Regions from separate parts of the Homo sapiens genome. Here regions 1, 2 and 3 are each linked to region 4. Evidence: promoter capture Hi-C in 16 types of primary human blood cells and fetal thymus (Javierre and others, 2016). All regions are on one chromosome and are shown on one strand. The core of a region is centred on a gene start or on the middle of the fragment in contact, and the rest is flanking DNA. Distances in the headings are between cores, read along the strand shown.

What was found. The method cuts DNA at HindIII sites, captures the fragments that hold promoters and counts their contacts. A CHiCAGO score of 5 or more calls a contact.
Region 1: a contact is called between a fragment that was not itself captured here and the fragment with the promoter of MARCHF6 in region 4, in 1 of 17 cell types (activated CD4 T cells). The highest score is 6.5, in activated CD4 T cells.
Region 2: a fragment that was not itself captured here is called in contact with the fragment with the promoter of MARCHF6 in region 4 in 3 of 17 cell types (total CD4 T cells, activated CD4 T cells and non-activated CD4 T cells); the score reaches 7.3 in total CD4 T cells.
Region 3: a fragment that was not itself captured here is called in contact with the fragment with the promoter of MARCHF6 in region 4 in 3 of 17 cell types (non-activated CD4 T cells, naive B cells and naive CD8 T cells); the score reaches 11.2 in non-activated CD4 T cells.

The regions. Positions count from the first base shown.
Region 1 is chr5:5,427,148-5,432,678 of GRCh38, forward strand. The region is part of intron 1 of ICE1 (interactor of little elongation complex ELL subunit 1); the gene reads left to right. Among named protein-coding and RNA genes, the nearest start is that of ICE1, 7.2 kb to the left of the region's middle. The HindIII fragment of the contact is 4,322 bases long and covers 1,924-5,531 here.
Region 2 is chr5:6,701,440-6,707,041 of GRCh38, forward strand. LINC02102 (long intergenic non-protein coding RNA 2102) reads right to left here. Exons shown (of 3, transcript NR_103771.1): 1 at 3,669-5,602; 2 at 1,119-1,270. Among named protein-coding and RNA genes, the nearest start is that of LINC02102, 3.5 kb to the right of the region's middle. The HindIII fragment of the contact is 8,406 bases long and covers 1-5,602 here.
Region 3 is chr5:6,718,489-6,724,441 of GRCh38, forward strand. The region is part of intron 1 of TENT4A (terminal nucleotidyltransferase 4A); the gene reads left to right. Among named protein-coding and RNA genes, the nearest start is that of TENT4A, 8.0 kb to the left of the region's middle. RefSeq lists an enhancer at 3,192-3,241. The HindIII fragment of the contact is 6,065 bases long and covers 84-5,953 here.
Region 4 is chr5:10,349,393-10,355,039 of GRCh38, forward strand. MARCHF6 (membrane associated ring-CH-type finger 6) reads left to right here and starts at 4,303. Exons shown (of 26, transcript NM_005885.4): 1 at 4,303-4,525. The coding sequence starts at 4,507. MARCHF6-DT (MARCHF6 divergent transcript) reads right to left here and starts at 4,665. Exons shown (of 3, transcript NR_183261.1): 1 at 4,580-4,665; 2 at 2,146-2,381. RefSeq lists enhancers at 3,862-4,121, 4,968-5,539 and silencers at 4,262-4,401, 4,442-4,911. The HindIII fragment of the contact is 4,878 bases long and covers 833-5,647 here.

The DNA of each region.
Region 1 (5,531 bases), core at 2,835-5,334, 4.9 Mb before region 4:
TTCAGAAGTGTGCAGATTGACTACATTTTCTGTGTCTTTTGCTCGTAGTCTCACAAATCACTTCATATCTGTTTTGTTACGCTCATTGATTACAGTAGTTCATTGCTGATCCATAGCCCAATGCCCAAAGTTCTGGGTTGCAGAACTTTGGCAGTCAGATATAACAGTGTGGGTCCTCACTCTAGTCATATTATGTATTATGTATGGTTAAGTAAAGTCTTAAGTTGTGTGTGTTTAAGTCAAGCTAGTGAAGCTGACATAGTCTCTTTATTCTGATGAAGGAGAGGCCCATATTTGCTGACTTCACTGCAGTGCAAAACAGTTGGATTCTCCTGGGGATCCAGATGAGAGTTTGAAACACATGATTATATTGTTCATCTCATGTATCTAGATTAGATTCAGTGAGTTTGATGTATGGTTGTCCTTGGAACAGATTTGAGCCTGTCCATAAACTTGTGCTGGACTCCCATTGATAATCGCTAGTGATTTAAGTGTCATCGTTTGGAACTTGAAACATTTTATTCCAGACCTATTGATTTAGAAATGGTTCTTTTACAAGGAATGCTTACAAAATTGTAATTCATTCATTTGCCAAACACATTTATTGAGCTTCGATGTATATATGATGCTATCCTGTGTTTCAGAATACAATGATGAACAGAAGAGGCATGGAGCTCATTCTTGTTGAGGTTACAGTTAAGTAGAAAAGCAACCACAGTATAGGTATAATATAAATATTATGGTAAGGGACATATGAGGTACTCTGGGAGCATGTAGGAGGGACAGTTATATAGGAATTGTGCCACCTCTCTGAAGGCTTCATAAAAGTGAATCTAAATTGAGGTCTGAAAGATGATTTGCAGTTAACTAAGAGGGAAAAGATGGAGGGAGAGTGTTGTAGACAGAACAAGTTGTGCCAAGGCCTGGAGGGGAGAAAGTAGTTGACGATAGATGAAGCACAGAGTAAAGGTGGGGATAACTGAGGTGGGGCTGGAGAGACTGGGGTTTGCCTTCCCAGCACCCAGAAGCCACTCTGCTTGGTTTTGGTGGGTGGGTGTGGTTGGGGCACAGTTAGAGAGAGGTGGACATTCCTGCCTTGTTGCCCTGTTCCAGTCCACGCTGTGCCAGAGGTTTTAACAGGTGAGAAGACACACTCATCTCTGCTAGATATCAGTGTAGGCTTTGATTTTAAATAAGAGCAGTTAGTAAACAGCAAGCACACCAGGAATAAGTGGTTTATCAGAGAGGAGTCATGCTGAACAATTAGCCAGATCTCTCCCAGCAAAGCAATAAATGTGAGTAGTGTGATTTTTAAAAATAATTTATTTTGAAATAATTTCAGACTTACAATAAAGTTGCCACAATAATACAAATAACCCTGATGTTCTCAAATTCACAAATTGTTAACATGTTATTGCATTTGCTTCATCATTGTCTGCACACATACACTTTGTCTCCTGTACATGTTCCAGGGTATACTTCCTCCAGATATGAACGTTTTCCAACATAATTACCCTACACCCCTCCAAATCAGGATAGTAACATTGGTGCAGCTGTAGACCTATTCAGATTTTGCTTGCTGGCCTGGGAGTGGCTTTTTGCTTTCTTACTCAAAGTCATGTCAGGAATATGTGTTATATTTTATTGTAATGTCTCTTCAGCCTCCTTCATTTAGTCTTTGTCTTTCATGTTTGTGAAAGTTTAAACAGCAGAGCCTTGCATTCCTCAGCGAACGTTTTACTACTTCTGAAGACATTTTTGATTGTCAGTGTTGGAGTCCCTAAGACCATGCTCATGTTCAGTACTCATAGGACTTAGCATATAGTTATACTCATGGCTGTGGTTTCTTACAGGGAAAGCATACAGAGTGAAGTCAGTAAAGGGAAAAGGCATATGGGGCAAAGTCTGGGGAAATCAGGCACAAGCTTCTGAGAGTGTTTCCCAGTAGAGTCACACAGCACATGCCTAATTGCTCCAGTATCGTGTTGTAACAGTACTTGTGAAGTGTTATCTGCCGGGGAATCTCATTAGGGACCTAGTGCCTGAGTTTTTTTTACTGGGGGCTGGTCTTGTAGGCACCCTCTGCCTAGCAAGCACCAAGATTCCAGACCCCCACAAGGAAAGCAGGTGTTGAGCATAAACCATACATGATGAGCCATTTTCATCAGTTTGGGGAATGATGGGAAGGAACTCTCCAGAAATCCGAGTCCTCAGGTGACAGCCAATGGCCCACCTTGCAAGCAGGTCTTGCTAAGGATCGTGTTCTCAGGCCTGCTGGGTTAATTGTTTGCTGCACACACACCTTGGAGCTTGGGGAGTGCTACAGCCAGCTGGTAGAGGCCAGGGATTCTGCCGAACATCCCGTCTTCCTTCTAGCCCAAGATGTCAGTAGTGCTGAAGTTAAGAAACTGTCTTCTCTTACATATTTACTGATTTGTTTGAGCAGACTACATATCCCATTATCATCTGTATTTATTTGTTTGCTATATTATCTATATACTTACTACCTTAGCATAACCATTTTCCTGGCTACACTGGCCATGTCTTCTGTCATGTCCTCTCAGCTGGTATGCCTGCTAGCTTGCTCCTTGCCCTGTGTGCTCAGCCAGGTGTGATTCTACTTCCCCAAGAAAGGAAGGAAGCATGGGCATCAGCATTCACAGTGACAATTCAGGAGGGTATTGTATGGATAAAGTTAAAATTGTCTGGTAGAGGGGAGAAGTAAATGGGAAACAAAAAGTCTTGAGTAAGAGAGTGGGCTGCTCTGGGAATTGTGTTAGTGAATTAGTATAGCTTAAGAAATCACCCAGAAGGCAAAGAAAAGATGGTAGTTATGAGAGAAAAGAGGAGAGAATTGAAAATAAGCCTGAACTTTCCAATAGACTATATAATAGAAGCTCTAGAAGAGGAGAGCAGGGCTGCTAAGAGAAAGCGATAATCGAGGAAACAACCCTTAGTATCTCCTGGAGAGGAAGAACACCTTGAACCTCACTTCTTCCATAGCAGCTGGACCTGTGCAGGAATGAATGTGGGTCAGAGGAGCCTGATCGCCCTTCACCCAGGCACACCCTGCTCACTTTCACAATTGCGAGGTTCATTATTTAGAGGCCTTGGTTTCAGCCAACATAAATGACATCTGAATCTGATTGGAGGAAAAAAAAATGTTTTATCAGAGTATTACAATATCTGACCACAGATAATACAGTATCTGACCAGATTTGAGCTGATATGCAGCAGGGCCTTGGGAAATAATGTTAGTCAGAGACTAGAATGCTATCGGATAACTGAGAAATCTTTTGTTTTCTCATTATACTGTTTTGTGATCTTGTTTTTTGTTTAATCACAGTTAAATATAAAAAGGCAGCTAGACAGATATACAAGAGTTGTTAAGACAACAAGTCAGCAGCCCCCAGCCCCACTCATCCCTGCTTTCCAAGACAGAACCATTTTTAATTGCTTCCACTGTGTATTTTACAATGAATTTTCCTGTTGTTAAATAGTAGACTCATTGCTGACTTTGGGAGGTGAGGATTCAGCTCTCTTACTGCCCCATACTCCACCATGCCTAAGCATATCTCTTCTTTCTCCATTTGTTCAGTATAGTTATGATTTCAGTTAGATCAGTATTTGAAGTTGACATTATTAGGACTGTTATTTGAAGCTAAGCTGTGGTGTTTTCTGCATGGTTTCTTGTTTTCCCTGATAATGATTGTATCTTTAATTCAATTTTTCATCCTGAAGATATTAGTGAGTGCTTACTGCTATGCCAGGGACTGGATTGAACACTTTATATGGTGCATCTTATTTAATCCTGATAGTATGCCAGTTATTTAAACTCTTTTTGCTTCAGTTTCTCCATCTGTAAAACTGATGAAATAGTTTCGAGGCAGGGGAGAGGTTAAATAAATTTGCCCAAGGTCACTTAGCAGAAAGTGGGGGTGGAATAGGAATGTGAATCTGACTCTGTGACTCTGGAGCCTGAGGTTTCTTCGGGGTCTCTGCCTAAGTACTTGGCAACTCAAAATGACATCTAGAAGCATGGGAAAGATGAGCTAGGGTACCAAAGAACTCAAAAGAGAATGGGAGAAAAAAGAGGAAGAATCACTTTTATTTTAGAAAAAATAATAGTTTAAATGCATGTCCAAAAATAACTGCATTCCCTTGCAAGTCTCTGCCAGTTTGGTATAAATACTCGAATGTTTTCAGTCTTTCATTTTCTTCTCCCTTCGAGCTTTGGGGCCTACTGTCATCTGGTACGCAGCAGCATTCTGAGGGCTCTCTTCACCCCCATCTCCATTCCGAAGGACCATGTTCACATCTTTCAGTACCCCCTGAGAAAGAATGTCTGGGAAGTAAGTTTGTAGAGACTTTGCAGATTTGAAAATATTTATTGTGTAGAATTTTATCTTGGAATTACTTGCCCTTTGCCATTTCGAAGGCTTGCTTTCTAGGTCTAGTTTTTCGTGTTGGTGTTGAAGTCTGAAGCCATTCTATCCCCGATTCTTTGTGTATCACTTGATGCCTTTTATTTTGCTCTTGGGATTCTGGTAGGGTCTTTGCTTTGTCTCCAGTGGTCTGAAATTTTGTGTTCTTGTTTCATGGTTTGAATCCTATTGAAGTCCATATTCCAGGCCCTTTCAATTAGAAATTTCTAGATTTGCTTCTGGGAACTTTTCTTGAATACCAGTATTTTTTTTTTAATTAGGTCTCCATCTTCGCCTTATTCTTTATGTGGAACTCTTATTGTTGGGTATGTGGGGCCTCTTGTGTTGATACCCTATTTGTTTTTATTTATTTTCCTTCTTTCTCGTGTCTGGGTTTTTATTTTCTGCATCCTTTTTTTTTAACTTTATGGTCAAATATTTTGAGTCTTTGTTAGCTATAACAGCATTATTGAAATATAATTTACATATAAAATTCTGCCTTTTATTGTATACAATTCAGTTCAATTCACAGAGTTGTGCAGACATCACCACTACATAGTCCTAAAACATTTTCATCCTCCACCTTCCCCAAAGAAACCCTATACTAGTTACTAGTCATTTCCTGTCTCTGTACTCTTCCTCCAGTCTCTGGCAGCCACTGGATTACTTTTGGCTCTGTTAAGGAAAATTCATATGAATGGACTCTAGAATACACGTGGACTTTTGTAACTGGCTTTTTTCACTTAGCATAATGTTTCAAGGTTGGTCCATGTTGTAGCATGTATCATTCGTTCATTTTCATTGTCAAATAATTCCTGTTGTATGGATATGTGACATTTTGTGAATCAGTTCATCCTTTGATGGACATTTAATTTATGTTCACTTTTTGGCTAGTTTGAAATAGTGCTGCTATAAATATCAGTGTGTAAGTTTGCCGTGGACTCTATTTTCAGTTCATACCTAGGAATGGGACTGTTGGATCGTTGGGTAACTATTTAACATTTTGAGGAACTGCAAAACTAGTTTGCTCAGCAGCTGCCCCATTTTATATTCCCACCAGCAATGTATGAGGAATGTATTCAGTTTCTCCACATCATCATCAACACT
Region 2 (5,602 bases), core at 2,320-4,819, 3.6 Mb before region 4:
GGTGACAACACTAGAACCTAGAGGAGTAGAGAGTGGAATCATGACAAAAGGAACCCAATGGAGGTGTCCAGGCGGGGGCTGGGCCACTGACGGTAAGGTAGAGGCTGTGGAAAATGCCCCTGAATGAGAAACTGTTTGTGCAATGCACATGACAATTTGTGTCAATGGTGCATCTTTTCCGCTGTTTCCAGTCTCTAGAAACTCTTTTATTACAGAACAATTGAGAAGAACACAAAGGCAGCCTCCCTCCGAGGTGACTCACATTCTACCCGCTGCTCACTCTGTCAGTAACACTGACGTTTTTTTACACAGAATATTGAACACTTGCCCTGAAAATCTTGCCTTTGTGCCTGCTTTCAGGTACAGGAGTAACGCTGGGGCCGTGAGGGAGTCTGACCGTCAGTCCTGATTCTGGGCCCGTGACAGGAAGCGCCACGGGTCTGGGTTCCTGCCATCCATCGCTGGCCATGCACCCTGCACCCACCACACGGGAAGAACCACAGGTAGAGTCATTGAATAACTGAATATTCAACGCACAAGGAGATGTGTGTTGAAGAACCAAGAGGGAGCTGGCCACAAAGACAGGGCAAAATTTTTGACAGTGTTGAAATGTTTTTTTTCCTCTTGATTCTGGACATCCTGAAGTCACAATATCCAATGCTCTTTCAGCATTTTTATGATAAAAAGCAATCACCTTATTAGTGGCTGTGTTTAAAGCTAGCCAGACTGAGGCGGTAAACAGCACTGCATTTATTCGTGTAGGCGCTACGAACCTGAGCACCAACTGGGACCTCCATGCGTGGACTGGGCCATAGTGAGAGAGAGGCATGGGGCATAGTGCATGGGAGAGGTGTCCTTGGTCCAAGGATGAGTGAGATGGTATTAGAACCTCCCATTCCTGCTGCATCAAGACATCAAAAAAAGAAGAAAAATAGAGCCTCCCATTTATTCTCAAGTGTTCTGTCTGTCCTCTTAGTCAGAGGCTCACACATCCCACCCTCACCACGTGGCTTGCAGGGCTCCCTGGCATTGCGTTGGCCAATGGTATGGAATTTGGCATGACATTGCTATACCCAGCAGAATCTTGAGGGCAAATGTGTAGTTTCGCCATGTCTCACCTTCCTTTGCCATTGACTGAGATGGGTTGCTACTCCAGCCTGGGTGCCCAAACACGGAAGACAAGATGTGGGGTACTGCCTGGGAGGACAGCCACCACCAATGTGTGCCATGTCGTTCCTATGAAACGCTGAGGTCCTGGGGATGTCTGTTACTGCAGCATAAATGAGCAAGAGCTAACTAATAAAGAGATTAACATTTAAACATTAAAAAAACATGGAGTGGGCCAAACAAAGCACGCCCTGGGCCAGCATGCTCTTTGACACATGATGATTACTTCCCAGCTTCCAGAGAGGCGCATGGGATCTTCCGCAATGCTAGGCAGGCTGCCCCTTTCCTTTTCTTTTTCCTTTCCTTTTTCCTTTCCTTTCCTTTCCTTCCCCTCCTCCTCCCTCCCTCTCCCCTTCCCCTCTCACTCCCCTTCCCCTTCCCCCCCTCCTTCCTCCCCTCCCCGTCCCCTCTCTTTTTCCAGACAGGGCCTTATTCTGTTGCCCAGGCTGGAGTGCAGTGGCGCCATCATAACTCACCGCAGCCTTGACCTCCTGGGCCCAAATGATTCTCCCACTGCAGCCTCCTGAGCCTGGGATCATAGGCGTGCACCATCACACCTGACAATTTTTTTTTTCTTTTTTTAATAGAGACGGGGTCTTCCTATGTTGTCCAGGCTGGTCTCCAACTCCTGGGAAACATAGGAAGACCCCATCTCTATTAAAAAAAAAAAAAAAAAAAAGAAAGAAGAGGCCGGGCGCAGTGGCTCACGCCTGTAATCCCAGCACTTTGGGAGGCTGAGGTGGGCAGATTACCTGGGGTCAGGAGTTTTGAGACCAGCCTGGCCAGCATGGTGAAACCCCGTCTCTACTAAAAATACAAAAAAAATTAGTCAGGAGTGGTGGTATGCACCTGTAATCCCAGCTACTCAGGAGGCTGAGGCAGGAAAATCACTTGAACCCGGGAGGCAGGGTTGCAGTGAGCTGAGATTGCGCCACTGCACTCCAGCCTGGGTGACAGAGTGCGACTCTGTCTCAAAACAAACAAACAAACAAAAAAAATAAAAAAAGAAAAAAGTGACCCCCCATCTCAGCCTCTGTGCCTGGCCTAAGACAGGTTGCCAAGATCACTACCAGTATGCGCTGTCCTTTCTCAAGGTGTCTTCAAGGAGAAGTAAGTACACTGTGGACAGCCCCCTGGCAGTAACACATCTCCTGCAAGCCTCTTTGTGTAGGAGGATTTGTTCTCCTGGCCCCTCCTTCCAATACCAACATCTTGAACTACAATTGTAAACCAGAGTCCGGACCCAGGGTTGAGGTCCTCAAATACTCCTATGGAAGAGACCACGTTTTCCCAGCTGCATGGAGGCATTTCACAGCTAAAACCACTCTTCCAATTCAAAGAAGTAAATGAATAGACAACAGCTGTGAATAATGTCTTCTGTGTTTTTCCCTAAACATTGGTTTTGTGGTCATGTCTTCGCTGGTGTTGAAACACTTTTTCACAACCAATGATTATGTATGTGATTAAAACCTCGGAAATGGATTGCCTCGGTCATTCACTCGTTTTCAAGGATGCCACCACCATGTTTAGAATGTGGCTGTCCCATGCTTCTCCCCACCCTTGCCCCTGGCCTTTGTGCTTCTGTGCCCTTTGTGATTTTAGCCATCATCCGTGTAATGGCTAAAATTCAGAAGAAAACGGCTAAAATTCAGAAGGAAAGTAAAATTACAAGCAGCATTTTTCTCAACAAACAGCCCACTGGTGACCTCGTGAGGGCACCAGCCATCGCCTATGCCTGTCCTTCTGGTGGCACAGAATTCACTGGAAAGGTCTCGGCCAGCCAGGCTCTGTGTCCAGCCTCTGTCTGTGTCTCTAAGGGGGGCCTGCACCTCCCGGGCTGCCTGGCAGGGCCTGTGAGGCCTCACTGTCATGAGAAAAGAATCCACAGGTCTGTAAACTTGCTATTTTTAGGCCTCAGTGGACTTGCGCCAGTTTCCTGAGTGTAGTAATTACCCAGATATTTTATTGAATAGGGCCTTGAAAACTTACAACACACACCTCAAACCTACTCAGAAATTTAAAGAGGTTTAAAATGCCATGCAGCGAATTCTCAAAGACAAATGACAAGCCCACGTCTCCATCCACCTCCCCCCACACCCTCAGGCTGCTCTTACCCTGCTTCTCTGCGCTTTCCACACCCGTCCCCGCCCGGGTGAGCTCACCCCATGCAGCTCTGCTACATGCCAGCCAGGCAGGGCTTGCTCCGTGACGGCCCTTTCCAGACTGGCTTCTCTTCTAAATGCAAGCCTCTGTGTCCAACTGTCTCCTGGGGATGTACGAGGGACATCTCCAACCTAGCATTTCCTAAAGAGGGATGCTTCCTGCTCCACCCAGTGTCCCCCATCTCAGGAAATAAGACTTTCATCCATGGCTGAGGCCACCGACCCGAACGGATGCTTTGTTCACTCTTTGCCTCCCTCCCCACTAGCTCCCCATGGCTGGCTCTACTTCAAAATCCATGCTGCATCCAAATCAACGCTGCTCCCCATTCAACCCCTTACCTCCAGAATCTCCTGCGGGACTGCCATAGCCTCCTGAGCCCCTGTCCCAGTGGGTCCACTGCCCAGTACTGTTCCACACGGCATGTAATCTTCTAGAGTATGTCAATTTGACCTTGATTGCCTGACTCACCAATCTCCAAGTCTTCACCTTCTTACCATGGGGGAAGGAGAGCCTGGCCTGCGAAGAAGGCGCACAAGTCTGTGGGTGGTTTCCTTTCCGAGGCCCACGAGGTTGCACTTCCCTCTGGTTGTTAAGTGTGATGTATAGAAGATAATGACTCAAGTGCCTGGATTAGCAATTGTGGGGACTAGCAATGCCCCCAGCCTACCCTCAAAGTCCAGGCTTGAACAATAGAACAAAACAGACACCCAGAGGGTTTGGCAGGGAATAGAGAATGATTAGAGAGATAGAAAAATTAATTAGTTCATTACAGCTGGGAGCAGGAGAGCCATTCTCTTCCATTAATGGGAAAGTTGGAGCCTGAACCAAGAGCAGAAAGCATGGAGCAGAAGCCATGGACTGATTCTTCCTTCAGTTAGAGGAAGCAACAGGAGAAGCAGAAGACTGAAAGAAAACTCCAGCTTCTTCAAGAAACACGGAGAAGGAACAGTGGACGGGTAGGATGCACAGAATAGGTACACGGCGCTGGTCCCTCTTGTAAGCATCTCATGGACATGCCTGCTTTTCATCTTCACGTAATTCCAGGCATGAGTTACAGAAATTTTCCCCATTCTGAGGCCAGTAAGTTTAATCAGTTTGCCTGAGGCCACATAGCTAGGAAATGGCAGAATGATGGCAAAGTCAGGCAAATTCGTTCCACAGTCCCTGTTCTTAACAAAAACAGAAATCTAAATTTGAGAATGGGCTGTATGCCCTGTTGAAAGACTCTTAAAAGAGAGAGAAAATCCAGCAAACTTACCCTGAGATGGATGGTCTGGGTTTCTTCCCATTTCCTAGAACTGCTTACCCGTGTGGAGCCATGCTTACTAACCCGCTGCCCTTGATGCCAGTGAGGCTTGGTGCTGGGCTGCCAATGACCTCAGTTATGGGGCACGGCAAACTTGGTGACTTTAGCTGCAGGCAGAGTCTGGGGTGGCGGTGCCTGCAGTCTGGTGTGCTGTAATGTAAACACCCAGGAAGGCTTCTGGTTGTTGCTTTAGGCCTAAGGCAGGGAGCCGGGAGAAATAGAGAAGGGAAGGGGTCTTCATTAGATGAGAAAGGAATATTGAAAAGTGAGGATTTTTCTGTTTCACTTTCATTTTATTTGACCTTTTACATTGTAAATTATATTCATTTAAAAAATAAAGAAAAAGAAACATTTCTCCAATAAATGGAATGCAGGACACATGTTAATACGGGCAGTGAATGTTAAGCTACACAGCGATTTTAAAATGAATGCACCATCTTCCTTGCTCAGGCAGTGGCTCCTGCGGTCACCATCTAAGGCAACCTGTTCCGACCTCCCTGGTGGAAACCTGGAAGCTCTCTGAACTTTCCTCTCTCCTTCTTCCACGTTGAATCAATTACTGAGCCCCCAAAGATTTTACCTCCGAAACATGTTGTGGCAAAGTCAGTGTGCTGTGTTTGCCAGACCCAGTTCCTTTTTGTTCTGGGCTCTCAGCTGGACTATATAGTCCAGCCTCCCTCAAGTTAGATGGGGCCACATGTCTGAGTTCTGGCCACCAAAATATGCATGTGAGTGATGTGCTGGCCACCCCCCAGACCTGGACCCTAAACCTCCTGCAGGATGCTCCATCCTATTTCTTCCCCTCACCCCTTTGCTGGCCCTCTGCAGAGAACTAGCTGAAAACTCCAGGGCCCAAGGGAATGGCAGAACTTCTGCCTGAAAGAGCCAGGATTCCTGAATGACTGTGTGGAGCAGAGTTCTCCTTCCCCATACCCCAGGCCCCATGCAGGCCCACAGTGGACTGGG
Region 3 (5,953 bases), core at 1,866-4,365, 3.6 Mb before region 4:
GTTGTGAGACCTGCCTTAAAGGGTGGCGGTGGCACGTGTGGACCTTGCTTTCTGAGTTTCACTCTCCGAGTCCCAGAGGTATAAGCTTGTGAAGAGAAGCGTGTATGTATGATCACACTAAGCAGATACTTGCTCCTGCACTGTTGGAGGAGGAAGAGGAGTTAATTTCATCAATTAACTCTTCCAACACTCCTTCCATTTAGTAATAGCATCACTTGTTCCTGTCTTTTGTTCCATGGCCAAGCTCCACAAGGTGAAATTGAAAATCGAGTGCAAGACACTGGCTGTGCTGGAGTTGAGGAAAGTTTTGCTGGAGACCTGCTTGCACCATATGTCTGGTCACTGATAGATGAGGACTGGCCAGGTCAGGACAGCTGACACTTGGAGAAGGGGCTGCCCAGGAGGGCATGACAGACTCTGGAAAAGGAGGGTCGGAGTATTAAACTGGCTGGGAATGAGAGGCCTCCAATCTTTTCGCAGGAAAAAAAAAAAAAGGCTTAATGCTCGTGCTGTGGAAGTCAGAATGGAGCAAAGTGGGTTCTGTCTGTCTTGCTGCTGTGAGCGTGTGATGGAACAACAGTGTCATTTGCTTTTTCTCAGAAATATTTAATGCATGTTTGTGACATAATTTTTCAAAGTAATTTTAAGTAAATATTTTAAAGTAAAAAGTTCTAAGATTTGTGTCTCAAGGTAAAGTCTCAAACGTTCTTTGGTCACTATTTAATATGAGATTTTGTCCTCATTTTAAATGGATTCATGTAAGCGTCCTGTGGAAGAAGAGTTAATAGTTATCCTTGGAAAATAAGAACTTTTTATGCCTCAGTTAGGTCATATGGTTTAGGATCTGATTTTGTAGTTGTGGAGTAAAGGTTAAGAAAAAAAAACAGCAAACCTTGATATTCAAATTCAGAAACTTGATTTTTGAGGATGCAACCAGAATTTGGACTAAAGGTACAGAGGGGTGGCAGAGTCAGACCACCCAGACTTGCAGAAGATTGAAGAAGCCGCAGTGCTGCCATGAAGAGGCCCTTTCTAGGAGGTGTGGCTGGCTTGTCAGTGCTTTGTCTTCTCTGCAGTGAATTGGATGGCAAGCCTCGCCCTCTTCGAAAGCTGCCACTCTGAACCTGCCTTGAGAAGCACCTCAGGGAGGGCAGGCAGGTGGTCTCAGTCAGCGCTGACAGGTGTCCAAGTTACCTGACCTGTTGGGAACATGTGCCTGAGTGAGGTGGCCAGGATGCCTTTTCTCCCAACACTGGGGATGCACACTCGTCAGCATCCTATTTTTGAGATTTCTATGTTGTGGTAGTTCTCTGTTGCTGTGTAGCAAATTAACATAAACTCAGAGGCTTAGAAGAACACTCACTTATGGTCTTAAGGATTTTGTGTGTCAGATCAGGGATGGCGGGGCTGGGTTCTCTGCTTAGGCTTTTGCAAGGCTGAAGTCAAGGTGTTGGCCAGCTGTGTTCTCAGCTGGCACTCAGGGTCCTCTTACCAGCACATTCCTGTTATTGTCAGAATTCAGTTCCTTGCAGGATGGAAGTCCTTGATTGCTTGCTAGCTGCCAGCAGGGGAATTGGGTAGGGCGCTGTCAGCTTCTTAAGGCCACCTGCATTCCATCTGCAAAGCAAGGTACTTTGAATTTCTCTGATGTTTTCCGCCAGCTGGAGGAAGCCCCCTGTTTCTATGGGCTTGTGTTATTGAGTCAGGCTCCTGCAGATAACCTGCCTACCTGAAGGTCATGTAGTAGTACAACATGATCATGGTGTGATAACCTCATCAGAGCCACAGGTTCCAAGGAGTAGGGTGTAGGACCTTGAGGGGAGGAGGTTCTTCTGTGGGTAGACTTCCCCTGGCATAGAATCCGTTGATGAGCAGGTTGTGGTTCTTCTTGTCCAACACTTTTCCCCTGACTGGACTCCAGCCCATCGCAATGACTCTTGCAGATTGCCAGTTCCGTCCTCTGGCTTGGTGGTTACTACTGAACTCAGGCAGCCACTATAACCAGGAGAACCTTTCTGTGCTGCACTCAGATGAACATTCTTTAAAATATGTCATTTAAGAAAAGTTTGCAGGACTACTCGGGAGGCAGAGGCAGGAGAATCCTTTGAACTGGAGAGTTGGAGGTTGCAGTGAGCCGAGATCGCACCACAGCACTCTAGCCTGGTGACAGAGCGAGACTCTGTCTCAAAATAAATAAATAAATAAATAAATAAATAAATAAATAAATAAATAAAAGTTTGCAGGAAAGCCGTGTGAATATATGAAAATACAGTGATTGAAAAGTCCTGTTCACGAGGTGTCCTGCATTGGCTAGTTTAGGAAAGGGGTCTTTCCTATGCAGGTGGGGGTTGATGACTTACCCAAGAGTCACCTCTGGAACCCAGTTCTCTTAAGTTGATAGCAGTCTATCTTTGCTTTGCAGAAGATGTGGGGAACACTTGTCCTGCAAGCCCAGGTTCGTAGCAATGTTGGCTTCCCCAGAACCTTGGCTTCAGAGCACTGTGCCTCCTTTAGGAGGCACAAGAAAACTCCCACACGGTTCTTCCCTCTGTCCCTTCCTGAGCCCCCTGAGTGTTTGGCTCTTGTGGAGTTGCTGCTATTACTAAGTTGATCCCACTGCCCTCCTGAGTCTCCTCAGGGAAGGAGGGGCTGTATTGTAGCCCGCATTCTTAGTGCCAAGCACACGGTAGCCACTAAGTAAGTATCTCCCAAGAAAGAAGAGCAGGAGGAGGATCTGCCAACTCAGGAGAGCAGGTGGGGGATGGCAAGTCTTCGGAGTATTCATAAACCAAATGCTAAGGGAAACTTTTGTTGTTTGTCTTAGAATTTTAAAAAATAAAGTCTGTTGCAGTTTATCTGCTTTCCTTCCTGGAGAGTGGCTAAACTAGTGTTCTGTTTTACAATGTAGAATGCAAAAGCAGAAAACATTCAAGAAAATTCTATACTGTATTTGAAAAACATCACCATTTAGTTTTAACTGCTCTTTGTTTCTTATTATAAAAATTAATACCTAACTATGAAAAGTTAGAAAGCCTGGAGAAGTATGGAGGTGAGTTGTCCACCATTGGGCCACTAGAGAGTGCCCTATGAGCCTGTCCCTGGTGTCCTGGACTCTGGTGGTGTGCACTGCATTTGCTGGCAGTGAGCCAGGGGGTGGGCCACATCTGGGCCCGGGCGGGGTGGATCTCTGCAGAAGTTTATCCATCTCTTGGCTGACAGGGTGGGCGAGATGGGAGCAGCTCTGAGGGTCCCTGTTGGCAGAGAATGTCTTTGATTATCAACAACATGCCTTTTTGTTGTGGGCTTGTGATCCTTTTCTTTCCTAAATCAGCTGCCGTGCATAACCAGTTAGGCTCTCCTGTGGCTTCAGATTGGAGTTAGTTTCCCAAGTGCTAGGATGTGGGTGTTAGGTGATTTCTGTCTTTCCGTTTGAAAGAGATTTCAGATCATTGTAACATTTCTGGAATCCTGTCGATCTGAAGGAATGGCTAGGATGTAGTAGTTTAAGGGAAATGAAAAGTCGAATGTATTTTGATGTTTCTGCATCAGACCTGCTCGGTGGAGTCCATTTCTCAGCTTCGGGAGCCACGTGCTTGGCTCTTGAGAGCCTAGCTCCATCAGCCCATGTCACACACTCACAGGTCTGGCTTTAGCTGGTTTCGCCATGGTTTCTAACTTGAGCCTCAGTTTCCCCCCCTGTGAAGCAGAGCCTGTGGCACCCACCTCAGAGAGTACATGAAAGACTTGGAAGCACTCTGTGAGTTGTCATGCGAGAGATTAAAAAGGCCACCGCTGCCCTTTTCTCCTCTCTTTAAGGAAATTGAAACCAAAAATTAAGTCCTTCTTGCCAGCTGGACAGGAAAAGCCTTTTTCTTGGTTTTTGAAAATACAACTTCCACTTTCAGACCAAAGTGAAAACTGCTAAAGACTGAATATTCTGAGTCTTGGGAGTGGGGGGCTAGAGGGGTGTTGTGAATTGAAAGATACCTTTCTATTTTTAAAACATTTTAACAATGCCTTAATGATGAATAATGTCTGTTCTAGTTTTGCATTTGTTAGTTTTTTTTTTTTTTTTTTTTTAACTGTTCTGAAGGTACATCAGCACTGTTCTACAGCTTTAAATAAGAATCTCATCTCCCCAGAGGCAAGGGTACTCTTGATGTATTTGCTCAGGGCTGTATGTGCTGCTCCGTGTAACTCATTTAAAGTTGGTTAAGGTTTTTTTATTTCTTGCACATAGTAGAAGGAGTGGATGAAGTGTTTTCTGAACTCTTTGCAGCTTCTAACATAGTGTTCTGTGTATAGTGAAGGAAAACAAAATTAAGGGCCAGGGAACATTAAGTAGGCAACTAGAACAGCACTGTCCAGTAGAACTTCCTGTGGAGATGGAATAATTCTATTTTTGCACTAATACAGTAGCCACTGGCCATATGTGACTTTTGAGCACTTGAAATGTGACAAATGCAACTGAGGAGCTGAATTTTAATTTTATTTACTTTTAATTAAAATTTAAATGGCCATGTATTTAGACAGCTCTGAACTGCAGTAACTTTAGGCTCTATTTGAAACAGTGTTTGATTCAGTAACTGTTGCTGAAATAAATTGAAACTCATACAACAGTAAAAGCTGTGTTACTCAGCAAGTTATCACTGTGAAAGCTCTAGAAATTGTTTGAGTTTCCAATGCAAATCCTTTTCAAAAAGCCGCTGTTTTAATAGCACATGAAGCATAAAATAGGTTCATAGCAGAGCGCAGCACAGAGCAACATGGAGCAACTGTTATGACCTGGAGTGTCTCCAGTCCAGCATGCAGGTGATAGGTCTCAGCATTTTTGCACGCAGGTTAATGATGGTGCAGACGGTCACTTCCTTCTCTCAACAGTCTTCCTGGTCACGAGCACCATTGTGGCTCGTGTGTGGGGCTCTTTTGGCTTAGCTCTCTGCACGAGTTTGCTCCTTTAGTTCCCAGAGCTGACCCTTGAAATGAGTGATATTACTCCTGTTTTGTAGACAGAAAACTGAAGCCTTGACAGTCTGACGTGACCTGGCAAGAGGTGCTGCAGTTGGAAATGTGAATTCACGGCTGACATCTGGGCACTTTACTCCTAACAGTGTTCAGTGAACAAGACGTCGCTAACATGCGGGGGATGGAACCTAGCAACTCATTCTACAAACATGGTTCAAATATGTTGGTGCAGGGCCTTTTGCTTTGTTTTCCTAAAGAGATTAGATTCAGATGTGGTGGGGTGCTTTGACAGCCACCGCAGGACAAAGTTGATAGCTGTGGGGTTGCGGAGTGTTGAGGATTTCATAGGGAAGCCAGTCCTGCGCAGTAGTACGCTCAGGTTCGTGCTTTCTTGAGGTGTTCCAGAACTGGCCTGGAGGGAGGCTGCAGTGTGGAAGCGGGATTTCTGTCACCTGGAGTATTCTTAGAAGTTGCATTCTATGAAGAGTGGAGCATCTGATGAGCTGTTTACTCGCTGTTTCATCTGACGGCAGTTGAAAGACAAGGCAGGACTGGCAGCGCAGCTGCCTCAGTCAGCACTGCTGCACTGGGGGCTTGACCTGCAGTCTCGCAATCCTGGACTATAACTCATTTTGAAGAGAGAAAAATTAAGCATTAAGTGATTCAAGCGTCTTGCCCAAGGCGCTACTAGAAAATAAAGGCACTGGTGCCCAGATGCAGGTCTGCATGGTATGCAAGCCTGGGCTTCTTCCCACCTCCCCCACAGAGAGGGCACTGGTATGTTGGAGTGAAGAGCCACGCAAGACCTCTGTGAATGGGCAGAGATGGGCCAGTGACGCAACACAGTAAAGTGTATTTTGGTTATAGGCATCGTCTCTAAACTTATGTAAAACATTATTAAAAAATGGAAGGACAACGATGAAATGATGGCCAAAAATATAGAAAAGGATACCTTGCATGTCCTGTGAAATGCAAAGGAATTCTAAAG
Region 4 (5,647 bases), core at 3,053-5,552:
CCTGGTAGGCCAGGCATGGTGGCTCATGCCTGTAATCCAGCACTTTGGGAGGCTGAGGCGGACGGATCACTGGAGGTCAGGAGTTTGAGACCAGCTTGGCCAACATGGTGAAACCCTGTCTCCACAAAAATTCAAAGATTAGTCAGGAGTGGTGGCACATGCCTGTAATCCCAGCCACTCAGGAGGCTGAGGCGGGAGAATTGCTTGAACCCAGAAGGCAGAAGTTGCAGTGAGCAGAGATCACACCACTCCAGCCTTGGCAGCAGAGTGAGGGAGACTCTGTCTCAAAAAAAAAAAAAAAAAAATTTTTGGCCTGGTAGTTACCTTACTATTTTTGTCAGGCGTTCAGTGCTTTTAGGAATCTGTTTTCTATATTTTATATAGAATTTCCAATTGTTGGTCTAAAAAACCCAGTCTGCCATAGTCTTAGAAAGGGAAGCGAACATCACCACTTTTCTCAGTACTTTAAATGAGAGGTTCTTTTAACCTAGGATTCATGCATGGAGTTCAAGGCATCTATATACCCCCCTGAAATTTCATGCAATGTTTTGTGTTTAACCAATTTTTTCTGGGAACAAAATCCATAGATGTTATCAGATTGTTAAAGGTGCCAGTGATAGAGACACCCTCAAATTTGATAACTATTGCTTTAGAGTTCTATCAGTACCTAGTAATTTTAATTAAAAAATGATTTTAGAATGATTTCAAACTCACAGAAAAGTTCCAAGTAGAGTGCAAGACAATCTCCACATTGTCGTCACCCAGATTCGCCAATGTTAACTCTGCCCTGACCCCACACACAATTAGTCTTTTTCTGAACCATTTGGGAACAAGCTTCAGACCTGAGTCCACGTTACCCCTAAATGCTATAGTGGGTATTTCCCCAAACAAGGATCTTCCAAATCAAGAAGTTAACATCGCTACAAGACCGTTCACAGAATCTATATAAGTTTCAATTTTTCAATTTCAACTGTCCCAAGAATATATTTTTTAAAAAATTGGACTGGGTGCAGTGGCTCATGCCTGTAATCCCAGCACTTTGGGAGGCCGAGGCGGGTGGATCACGAGGTTAGGAGTTCAAGACCAGCCTGGCCAAGATAGTGAAACCCCATCTCTACTAAAAATACAAAAATTAGCCAAGCATGGTGGTGGGCACCTGTAATCCCAGCTACTCAGGAGGCTGAGGCAGAGAATTGCTAGAACCCAGGAGGCAGAGGTTGCAATGAGCTGAGATCACGCCACTGCACTCCAGCCTGGGCAACACAGCAAGACTCTGTCTCAAAAAAAAAAAAAAGTGTGTAATATTTACTTCACAGGATTGCTATGGATGTTCATTGGACATAATAAGGAGTTTGGTTAGTTGTCATTGTTAGTTTGTTACAGTTACACTGTGTCCCCCTACACTTCCCCTCTTACTCATTGCTTATTGGGGTATGGAAAGCCAGCATTGCTATAGCATTCTCGCAGCACAGTACACACACACACACACACACACACACACACACACACGAGGCTGGAATCATGGGTATACTATGTCTTTAATAAAGGATCTTTCTTGGCCAGGCACAGTGGCTCACACCTGCAATCCCAGCACTTTGGGCGGCCATGGTGGGCGGATTGCTTGAGCCCAGGAGTTCAAGACCAGCCTGGGCAACATGGTGAAACCCCATCTATACCAAAAACAAACAAACAAAAAAACAAACCACAAAAATTAGCTGGGCGTCATATGCCTGTAGTCCCAGCTACTTGATACTCGGGAAGCTGAGGTGGGAGGATCACTTAAGCCAGGGTGGTGGACTGTTGCAATGAGCCAAGATCATGCCACTGCACTCCAGCCTCGGTAACAATGTTTCAAAAAAAAAAAAAGTATTTTTCTTGATTGGACAATGAGAATTCTAATTGTAATGGATATCTATTGTTTGGTCCTCCCCCTTCTTGTGGGAAACGGTCTTTCTCTACTTCCACAAGGTAGTGTACATTGTTCTTACCTGAAATGGCAGTTACAAGAACATGACAATGTCCATGTTCTTAAAGATCCTAGATCTTTGGCACAATCATTTGATTCACGGACAGGCAACTAGCTGGACCAATGAACTAGCCTTCCCTGAGAATTTTTAACTTGGGACTAGAGATCATCATCCTTACCTCGCCTGTCTGATGATGAGGCAGAAGATGAAATGTTGGGAGCTGTCAGTGGCCTTGTTTCCAGACATATGGAGGAAGCTGGTCTAACAGCATGAAGCCAATGTGCAGAGAGAGTTGCAGAGCTGAGCCATAGGGGCAGAGGCATTCTCGTTCTAGTAGTCCCAGCAGTCCCTCCCCTTCTTGGAGTCTGTCCATATCAACAGTACATTCCTCCCTTCTGCCTAACAGTTGAGTTCCTGTCAATGGCAACCAAGAGAGGTGTGACTGATTCATGTATTCAAAGGGCTGTTGTGAGAACTTGTGCCTGACTCACAGTGGGGACTCAACAAATGTTGGTTTATTACTCTTATATTTAACGCCTAAAGTCTGAATGCGAAAAGGTTAGGGCAATTCCAGAAGGAATTACTATGCAGAAGGGAAAACTGGTTGACAGGTTAACTTTCCTTTGAACATCACAAGGGAAGGCACCTAAATACAAAAGGAAGGCTTCCTCCACGCCCCCCATACACACACATTCCCTTCATCCTAACCTGGCTCTGCAGCTCCGAGGGTCACATACCTGCCCTTGGCACTACTAGTACTTCCTCCAGCAAGTCTCAGTCTTTCTTTCAGAATCCTTCGCCCTTATGCCATGTAACATCTGATCGGCCCGGTCTTTGCCCCTAGTATCAGCAGGCCAATACGTGCTCTGCTACAGGTCTTACAGGGAGGGTGAGCTCTTGGAGTTGGATCAGAAGGAGAGGGGCTGGGGAAAGATCGTCTTCAAATTGTTTCTTTGGCGGTAGTATATATAAACATATTTAGGCAGGGCATAGTGGCACATGTCTGTAACCCCAGCACTTTGGGAGGCCGAAGCGTGAGGATCGCTTAAAGACAGGAGTTGAAAATCATACTGGTCAATATAGTGAGATTGCAGTGAGCCATTATCGCGCCACTGCATTCCTGCCTGGGTGACAGTGCGAGACCCCTTCTCAAAAAAAAAAAAAAAAAAAGAAAGAAAAAAATCATAAGCAAACAACAACAAAAAAACAAATATAAAGAATGGCGGTCTGCTTAATTCTCCGTGCCAGCCCTTGAAATCAGTGGGTATTATTATGTAGAGTTTGAGTTCTTTCCTCCCTTGAGTAACATGAGTGACATCAGTAACATTAGTCAAGCGCTGCTCTTTTTGAAAGACTGTATTTCATTATTTTTATTCTAAACCTTACTCTGTTTGATGAAGATTGGGGGAAGAGCCCTCCCAATTCCACCGCTCACACATAACAGCGGTTGCTAGCATTCTTTATTTGTGCTAGGTCATCTGCATATTGTTTAAACATTTTTCGAGGCTGGAAAGACTGCTCCCACTCAGGCAATTCTGACGTGGCGGCCCTTCTAATTTATATTCTCTAAATAATTCTTCATTTAGAGAAAACAGTCAGGGATTACAGTGAGGGAGGGTGACGTGCTGACGGGGACAGAGCTTGGCTTTTGATCATTCTCCCCTTAGCTCTGCCCAGGCAAGCGTCCCTAACTCAGGGTATCGGAACCGATCTCCCTTAGAGGATTATGTTTCAACCACCAGCCTCAGCGGTTTACTCAAATGTCCTTCCAGCCAAATGCAGAAGTCTCCCTGGGAGTAATTTTGGTGAAGTCAGCTTTTGCCTTTTTCATCACAGGCAGGCTTTAGTAGTTCCTCAAAACGTGCACCACAACTGCCCGGCTGCCAAACAGAAATGCTGATGCCTGGGCCCACTCTAGCCATTTGGCCTCGGCATCACGGTGCGGGAGCGTGGGGCGCAGACTCGCATTGTCACAGGAACCTCCCGGCCTTCCGAAGAGCCCCGCGCCGGGGCCTTTGTCTCGCACGTCGGCTGGGGCGGGAGCTAGGTTCTCGCAGCCTCCTCCCACCGCTCTGCGCCTTCTTTGTCCCTCCAGAAGCCGCCATCAAAGCTCAGCTCCTGATTAGGTTTCGGCCCCGCTGGCCGGCGCAGTCTCGGCGACTACCCCAGGCGGCCTGGCGCACGCGAGGATTCGCCGCGCCCCAGATGCAGGTGCCTCCCCTCCTTAGCCGCCGACCGACAGTGCACGCCGCGGCCGCCGGAAGTGACAGCGCCTGTCGTTGGGGAGCTCCCGCCCCTTCCGCCTCGGCGCCCCGCCCAGGCCTCGCCCCTAGGTGTTCCCGCCCCTCCCCCTCCCGTGTCGCTCGCTTTCTGTCAGCCTCTCTCCCTCTCCCTCTCCCCTCTCCTTCCTCTCGCTTCCTCTCTCGCACCTGAGCGTACGCACCTGCCCGGGCCCGGCTCCCTCCTCCTCTCCCCTCCCTCTTTCCCCGCCCGGCCGCGGGAGCCTCGTGGCTGCGTCACCGCCGCCCCCCCAGACAAGATGGACACCGCGGAGGAAGGTAAGTCGGCGACGCGCGGCGCCCGAGCCCTTGCGTCGGCGCCCGGGTTCGTACCCCGGCCAGGTCCGCGGCGCTCGAGGTGGGCTGCTGGATCGCGGCGGGGCGGACGCCTGGGCCGTTTGTCCACCCGCTGGGCCTCTGGGCCGGGGAGCGGAAGGTGACCCTCTGCGCGCCCCCCGCCGTTTCCCGCCCGCGCCGCCGAGGGGGGCGGGGACCCTGCCGGGCAGGGGCCGGGGCCGGGGTCGGGGCCTCGGGGCTACTGCAGGCCGGCGTGGCCTCCCTTGTCCCCGCCGTCGCGCGCTGGCCCAGAAAAGGGGGCCTCTGTCGCTGCCGTCCGGGGGCGTTTTCCGCACCCTTCCCCCACTGGGTTTTGTCTTTCTTTACGTCCTTCTGCCTATTGCTCGCCAGGCCCTACCCCCTCGCGACAGAACTTCTTTGTTGACTTTGAAACTTCGCGAAAAATACCCCGCCAGATGACGGCCGAGTGGAGTGAGCTGACCCCTGTTGAAAAGCCTGGTCCTCGGCTTGCCTGCCGCTCGAGAATCTGTTTACTAAACGGGGAGGCTCTTTTGTTGCGATCCATTTGGTTTTAAATCCTTGACACCTATAAGCAGGGTTCTGTTTGTTTTGTTTTGCGATTGCTTGTGTTTTGGATACGGTTACATTGAACAAACTGACCCTTGTAAAATGAATACTTAAGATATAAACGTCCACACCTTATGTCTCTTCAAACGCATTTTCTTACCCACTGAAGGTAGTAGATTATTTTTAACCAGCTGTGTTTTTAAATGAGTGGTGAGTTTATAGAGGAAATTACTAAATTTTGCTTTTTTTGATGTTCCGGTTATCGTGCAAATGCTTTTCTACTTTAGGTATATTTATGGGGGTATGAGCGTCTTTCAACCTTATGGGTTGCGATTTTGGCGATTTTAAACGAAAATGAATTATCAAACGCCGTCATGGAGTGCAATAATGAGTGAAAAAAGTTTGATATTATCTATGTAATGAGTTGATAACGACTTATTTTTTTTTAAAGAAGTCTTGCCTTTAATAAATACCTCAACTATAACATGTGGCACTTGATGTACATTCGCGTTCCATCTTCGTAAAAAGCCTGTGGAA